Regions from separate parts of the Homo sapiens genome. Here region 2 is linked to region 1. The links are contacts of gene promoters, found by promoter capture Hi-C in human tissues and cell types (Jung and others, 2019). All regions are on one chromosome and are shown on one strand. The core of a region is centred on a gene start or on the middle of the fragment in contact, and the rest is flanking DNA. Distances in the headings are between cores, read along the strand shown.

Evidence for each region. Contacts are between HindIII fragments. The study calls those that stand out against the background at their distance.
Region 2: a contact is called between a fragment that was not itself captured here and the fragment with the promoter of FNDC5 in region 1, in 3 of the 25 tissues and cell types used here (H1 embryonic stem cells, IMR-90 fibroblasts and spleen).

Annotation. Positions count from the first base shown.
Region 1 is chr1:32,868,853-32,872,634 of GRCh38, forward strand. It overlaps FNDC5 (fibronectin type III domain containing 5), which reads right to left and starts at 2,060. Exons shown (of 6, transcript NM_001441683.1): 1 at 1,801-2,060; 2 at 30-145. The coding sequence starts at 2,038. The HindIII fragment of the contact is 14,778 bases long and covers 1-3,782 here.
Region 2 is chr1:32,925,032-32,928,813 of GRCh38, forward strand. No RefSeq gene overlaps it. Among named protein-coding and RNA genes, the nearest start is that of TMEM54, 26 kb to the left of the region's middle. RefSeq lists an enhancer at 1-544. The HindIII fragment of the contact is 6,638 bases long and covers 1-3,782 here.

The DNA.
Region 1 (3,782 bases), core at 810-3,309:
CTTCCCTCCTAAGGACAGTGGAGCATTACCTGCTGGGAGATGGCAAATCCGATGACAACCTCATCCTCCAGAACATCCCAGCTCACCACTGCAGAGTTGGCCTTGAGGTGCCTGACGGTGACGTTCACTGGGGCTGAGGGACTGTCTGGGGGACGGGGAGGCACCTAAGCCTGAGCATCCCCTATTGTGAGGCCCAGACCCACTGTCTCATAAGTAAGAAGGGGAAACCTGGGGAAGGCCATGCAGGAGGGGAAGGAAGAAACTAAGGCCTCAAGTGGGGTCCAGTGACATGGCTCTCAGCTCTTCAGTGGGTTGAAGAACCAAGCCCAAGAGGCCCCAGGCTCCTCATGACTGGGACGGAAGCCCCTGCTGGCCACAGGCCGGCCCCATGAGGGGTCCAAGGCTCAAAGTGATGGGCCTGGGCCGGGGCCCTATCTAAGGGATGGGTGGTTAGAGTTGTGGAGAGAGTTATGTAGGGGACATAGGTGGACAGAAACTGAAGGTTAGCTGATGAAAAGCAGACAAAAGGACTCCCCAGTCCAGTGCTCTTTTGACAATACTGCCCTGTCCAATGAGTGACCTTGCGCGAAGGAGAAAGACCCAGAGATCGAGAAGTGTCAGGCTGGGGTGAGCCCTGGACTGGGAGTGAGGAGAACAGAAGTATCCTCAGAGCTGTGGTGGCCCAGGCAGAATAAAGCCTGCGGAAGAGTCTGTGTGAGCCTCTTATCCATGCTCTTCCAGCCCCAAGATGCAGGTGGGGAGGTGGCAGGGGAAGATGGGGTCACTCAGAGCAGGGCCCCTCCATGGCGAGTGGAGAGGAGAGAACAGGTAGGGGAAGAGGATGAATGAGGAATCACTCCAGAAGAGACAGGAGGGAAGTGGGGGTGAGAGTGATAGGGATAGTGGGGGTCAGTGAGGAAAACCGTCCAGGAGAGGGGCAGTGCAGTCACATAAGGCTCAGTATCTTCCAAGGGGCAGGTGCAGCACGGGGCAGAGCTGCGCCTGAGCAGCACCCCTCACCCCACAGAGAGTGAACTTGAGACCCAGGGGGCTGGGCCTGGGACCTGAGGGAGACAGAGCCAGACATGGAGGGGGAGGTGGAGAGACAGGACACAGACAGGTGGTGGCAGACACAGAACCAGAGGACAGAGAAGTGGGGCATCTGAGAAAGACAGCTGCGAGAGAGCGCTCCCCGAGCCACGGAGGGAGAGATGAGCCGGGCAGCGGCAGCCAGGAGGGACAAAGACAGAGTGGCAGGAGAGGCTGGGCAAGGACGGGCCGGCCCCATGGGGCAGGCCAGACACTGTACCAGATCAGGGGTGCCGGGGCCCACCCCACGCCCTGCGCCCTCAGGTGCCAGCCCCCATCCCCTTCACACGTGCTCCTGCACAGCGGGACCCCATCTGCCCCTGCAGAGTTGGCTTGCAGGGCTTTGAGAGGTCCTGGGGACACAGAGAGAGGCCCAGGTGGGGGAACTGGTGTCCTCAGCTGCTCCCTGGGTCAAAGAAGGGAGCTAGGGAAGCTGAGGCAAAGACCTGGGGTTAGGGGAATGGGATTAGGGGACTGGGGACCACAAGACCCTAGGAAACCCAGGGCTGAGGTGACAGGGGAGATTTGGAAACTGAAGGACAGGTCTGGGGGTCAAGGAGGTAGGAAGACGCTGGGGGCTGGGTTAGGGGAGCAGTGTTTGGGCCGAGACAGGAGTCCCTAGGGGGCAGAGAAAGGACCAGGGGACTCCCAGGTAGCTGGGCTCGAGAGGAGCCTGCCCCGGCGCCGGCCCCCCGCCCCGGGCCCCCTTACCCGCCTGCACCAGCGCGAAGCAGACGCAGCCCAGCCACAGGCGGAGCGCGGCGCGGGCGCGGGGCGGCCAGGCGCTCGGCGACCCGGGGTGTATGGTGGCTCCTCCGGCCGGCAGGCCCGGGGCGGCGCAGGGGGACGCGGCTCCGGCGCCCGGCGGCCGCTCGCGCTCGCGCTCCGGCCCCCGGCCCGGCCGGCCCGGCCGCTCCGGCCGCCCTGCGCCGCCCCGAGCCGCCTGCATGTCGGCTCCGCGGACAGCGACTCCCGCGCGGCGGCGGTGGCGGCGGCCGCGTCCACGTCGGGCGCCCGGGGGGCGGGGCGCCCCCGCTGCGGGGAGAGGTGCGGGGGCGGGGTGAGGACCGGAGGGCGCCCCCACTCCCGCCCCCGCTGCCTATTAGGTCCTCTGCCGGGGAGGAAGGGGCTTCGCGGACCCACGGCTCCCGCCCTCTCACCGAGCGGGAGCCCAGCGGGGTTCTCCGCGCCCCCGCCGCGGTCACTCTCTCTCCCGTGCACAGCCCTGACTTGGCTGCCGCTTTCTGCCCTTTCCCAGGGTAGAGAGAGGACAAGTGCCACCGAGATGCCCGTTTGTGCCCCCACCCCTAAGCGCGCCTCCCTTCCCTGGGCCTAGGGATCCCCTCATTCCACGGTAGACCCGAGGCCTTGCGGCTGGGGCAGACGGGAGCAGAGGGGAGAGATCACAGTAAGGCTGGGGTGAGCAGAGAGTGCTAAGTGGACACTAGGGCTCCGTGTTTCCAGTGGGGTTGGGAAGAGGCTGCTCTGTCTCACTGGAGAGTCCAGCTCTGTGACCCCAGGCCAGTCCTTTTCCTTCATTTTCATCCCCATAGTGAGGGCAGTAATGAGCGTCTACCAGGGGCCAGATACTATGCTGAGCTTTCTTTGCATTATGTGGCTTAATTCTCAGGGCAACCCTGTAAAGTCATACTCTGCACACTTTGCACAGGAGGAGCCTGCAGCTTGGACAGGCTACTTGACTTGTCCAGGGACCCGCAGCAGAGCCAGGATTTGAACACAGGCTGATCTGACTCCCAAAGCTGTGCTTAACTGAACTGTCTCCCCACCCAGAGTGACTTCACCCATCCGGAGATTCGTGAGACTCTAGAATTGGCCGGGGCCAGCTCCTCCCCAGCCAGAAAACAGTCTGCAGCAATCTCTAAGAGCATCTCTGAGAAGGGGAGTGGCTCCAGCCCCCTTCCCTCATCTCAGCCAGAGAAACAAGGTGGAGGAGAGAGGCATGGACCAGGGCTCAGGGCCTTTTGTCTCAGCAAGAACCCCTGAGCCCCCTCCCACGACTATCCGAAATTCCACTACTAGCGGGGCATTCCTTTGGGTCTTAAAGGTTTTCCAGAAGCCCTGGAAGGGCTAATTTTCTTTGGAAAGGAGACGTCTTGCAAAGTTCTGCCACAGAAACGTCTTCAGGGTCTTCCTCTCCATCCCCCTGGTTTTACATTAAGGAAGTGAGGTCTACCGATGGGAAGAGCTTGGTGCAGATTCACACAGTGGGTCAAGAGGAGCGATAGACAACCCTCCTCTCCTTATGCCCACCCAGGACTCCTTCGCTGGCCCTGTGTTCCTCCTTGGTCACCTTGGAAGGGGTGAGATGGAAGCGAGCTTAGGGGCTCTTGTTGAGCAGCAGAATTTTCCTGCCCATCCCCTCAGTGCCCCCAGACCTGCCCCACTCGGCAGGGTGACACTGCCCAGCCCTATCATTTCCCCCGCCACATACCTTGTCCTGGGAGAGCCTCAGCTGGGACCTCGACCCGTTTGGGAGAAGAGCCCCGGAGCCAGAGCACCTCTCTCTCTCTTTTCTCTTTGCTCTCTTTCTCTTTCTCTCCCCTTATTATCTTCTCTCTCTTTCTCCCCGCAGCTGCTGCCTGCCCCACCCCACCCGGCCCCGCCCCACCAGCTGCAGCTTAGCCCCTAGGGACCCCCCACCCCCCATCCATCAGACAGGAAGACAACCAGGA
Region 2 (3,782 bases), core at 257-2,756, 56 kb after region 1:
CCTGCGTTCCGAGCCGGGTGTGGACGCGCTGGTGCTCAGGGATGTCAGGGGTTTTGACCCCTGAAGGCGCAGGAGTCAGGCGCCCGCGGGGGTCCCTGGGGGAGGGGGTCCTGCGCCGTCCCCTCCCACTCCTCGCCTGCAGGTCGGGGAGCCTCTGCCGAGGGAAAGGAGGCTGTTGTGTAAACTGGTGGAGGCGCGCCTGGCCCCTGGGCCCGGCAACCCGAAGAGACACGCCTGAGACCTCCTGTGTTAGAAAATCTGCACTCAGGACTTTGAAGAAGTCCTTGCCCAGTCGTCTTGGGCAATATCAACGACCAGACATAAGAAACTTAGACAGACACCAGACAGGACAATAGACACTAAACAAGACAATAGACACTGGGGTATATAAACAATTATGACAATTTTTATAGACAGACAAGGGGAGGGGGTCCCGTGATGGGATCAGTCAGATGCCCGCCTGGCTGCTCCCCCTGAGGGGACTTAGGCTCCTCTTCGCATTGGCAGACCGGTATAAACCCCCGGCTCAGATGGAGCTATGCCAGATGCTGCCTTAAGCCGTATGAGGTCGCCACGGAACAGTAGGTGAGGGCCCTCTCGAATTCCGTAGCTTTCACGGTGGAGCTACAAACTGGAAATTCAAGCGCAAGCCCTTGAACTCCACATACATGCACTGATTCACACAGAGTTTACAACAGGTTTTTTTTTTTAATTCCCGTTCTAAAACAGAGGTCTCCAGGAGACCTGAAAGAAGAAGAGATAGAGAAAGAGGGAGGGAGGGAGAGAGAGGAGAGAGAGAGAAAGAGAGAGAGCGAGAGAGAGAAGAGAGAGAGAGAGAGACAGACAGCCTAGACTTAACGGAGAGGCTGGCCTGCCAGAAACCAGGACTCAGTCCTCCAGCGTCCTAGAATATGGACAGAGTCACGGGAGGGCCCTCGTCAGGGCTGCTTCCCTCTCAGAGAGACACAGAGGCGCCTAACAGAAAACCAGGACTCCGTCCTCCAGCGTCCTGGAATGCGAGCAGAGTCAAAAAGGGACGGCCTTCATCAGAGCCACTTCCCTCCCAGAGAAACAGAGTCAGATCTGACTTACCTTCCCGGGACTAGAAACTGAGGACTTAGGAGTTGAATTTTTTGTGGGCACACACCGGTGGTCGATCCGTTCCCCTCCGGAAGATAGGGTCTTATGGGGCCCTGGAACGTCTTCAGGTGGCGCCTCCCCTGTAAGTCCGCCGTCTGTCCGGGGGAGCCTGGAACGAGTCGGGCTCTCACCCAGGGGCGAATTTCTCGCTGGGGCCTCCAAATGTTGTAACCAAGCGAGTTATAGAGAAACACCACATTTTGAAACTAATTCAGGAGTCTTTTATTACATGGCGACCGAGAGATGGCTAGAGCTCAAAATTCTCTCGGCCCCGAAGAAGGGGCTAGATTTTCTTTTACACTTTGGTTTAGAGAGGGGACGGGGAGCCTAGCTGTAGCAATCTTACAGAAGTAAAACAGGCAAAAAAAAAAAAAAAAAAAAAAAAAAAAGTTAAAAAGACAAATGGTTACAGGAAAACAAACAGTTCCAGGTGCAGGGGTTTTAAATTCATCACAAGCTGATAGGTGCGGGGGCTCTGGGTGCTATCTGCTGGACACAAATGCAGGGGCTTTAGGGTACCATCACCTGGGCGAATTCCTGGGAATCGCGGACATAGCTTGCCACAGTACCTTATCAGTTAATTGCACTCTTTGATATGCTGAGAGTCAGCTTGCACAAGTCCTTGAGGAAGGGGGTGGGTAAGGAGCCCTTGATGTCTTGCAAAGGAAGGAGCCAAATGGAGTCCATCTCGCTTTCTCAGCTAAGAGAGAGTCAATCAACTTAATACAAGTTACGGTATCACAAGAACATTTGAAATTTACTCTTCAAATGATGTACATTTGAAATGTACAATCATATACTATTGTATTAGGCCATTCTCAAATTACTATAAAGGAATACCTGAGACTGGATAATTTATAAAGAAAACAGGTTTAATTGGCTCATGGTTCTGTAGGCTGTGCAAGCATGGTACCTGGCATCTGCTTGGCTTCTGGGGAGGCCTCAGGAAGCTTTTATTCATGGTGGAAGGCAGAGCACTTAATACTGGTGAAAGCCAGAGAAATAGAGAGGTGGGGGAGGTGCCACACACTTTCAGTCAACCAGATCTCTAGACTCACTATTGTGAGGACAGCATCAATCCGTGAAAGATCCACCCCATGATCCAATCACTTCCCACCAGGCCCCATCTCCAGCACTGGGGATTACAATTCAACCTGAGATTTATATGGGCACAAATATCCAAACTCTATCAACTATTATTAACTATATTCACCATGCTGTGCAATAGATCTCAAAACAAACAAACAAACAAACAAACAAACAAACGTATTCCTCCTGAGGTCTTGTACCCTTTGACCATCATTTTCCCTATTCCCCTCAGCCCTCAGCCTCTGGTAACCACCATTCTACTTTGTTTCTATGGATTCAATTGTTTTAGATTCTACATGCAAGTGGTAACGTGGTATTAGTCTGTGCCTGGCTTATTTCACTTAGCATAATGTTCTCCAGCTCCATCCATGTTGTTGCAAATAACAGAATTTCTTTCTTTTTCAAGGCTGAATAGTATTCCATCATTTATAAATACATTTTCTTTATTTTTTCATCCATTGATGGGGTAGACTCCAACTTGTATGCGGAATGTTAGCTGCATGGGAGTCTGGGAAATAGTTTTTATCTTTGCAGCCTCTGCAGTATGAGGAAGTGTTTGGAATGGATGTTGAAAGTCAGTTCACCATGTCTACACAGTCTATCTTTTTGGACTTTTAGGGACCTAAATCCGCTCCTTAAAATAAGAGACCCCAAATCCCATCAGTCACATAGCTAGCTGATCCACCCTGGGTGATTATCATTCTAGTTCAGTTACAATTCTACCATAACAGCATATAATCTAAACACTAAATTAACAAGTTACCAACAGTAATACATTTCATTATACTAGGGAAAATATGGGAGGGGAAAATGAGTTAATATCTATAAATTAACACAATAGAGCAAGGAAGAAAATATGAAATGCTAATATAGTGCCCGTTTCTCAGCTTTTCATGAGTTAGTTGTTTCTATTTATATATATTTCTTTCTCCACCATCCAGTCCATGATCCTTCTTCCTCAGCCAGTATATGAACTGGATTAAGTTCTTTATCTGGTGGGGTGACCCAAATCACGGAGGTAGACATTCTCTTAATTTCCACAGGGATTATCTCCTATCCTTAGAACACATGTTTTACCAGGGCATTTGGATACCTGCTACTTCTTGCTTGCAAGATTCCAGACATGTAGAACAATGTTCTGGGAGATGTGAGATGATTAAAGTGCCTGCAGATTAGACTGCAACAGAGCTGCAAGGGTGATATAACCCAGATGCAGGACAGTGTAATGTACTGTTGACCCTGACAGGTGAAAGTAATCTGTTTTTGATGTTTTCTGCTATTTGGGCTAGAGAAAAAAGCATATTCCAGGTCAGTACTCATATTCAGTTGCACGACTGTAGGGGCCGGGGCAGGTGTTGATTTGCTTCATAAAGAGATTATATCTAAAATAACAGCTAAAAATCAAGTCCTGCATAGGCCAAACAAGTAAATTAAATGTGGATATGATAGGAGCCATCATTCCTGAAATTTCTGTCTTTGATGCGGACACTAATATCCATCATTCCCTTAGGGATGCACTATCGCTTTTGGTTTATGTTTTTGGTGGGAAAGGG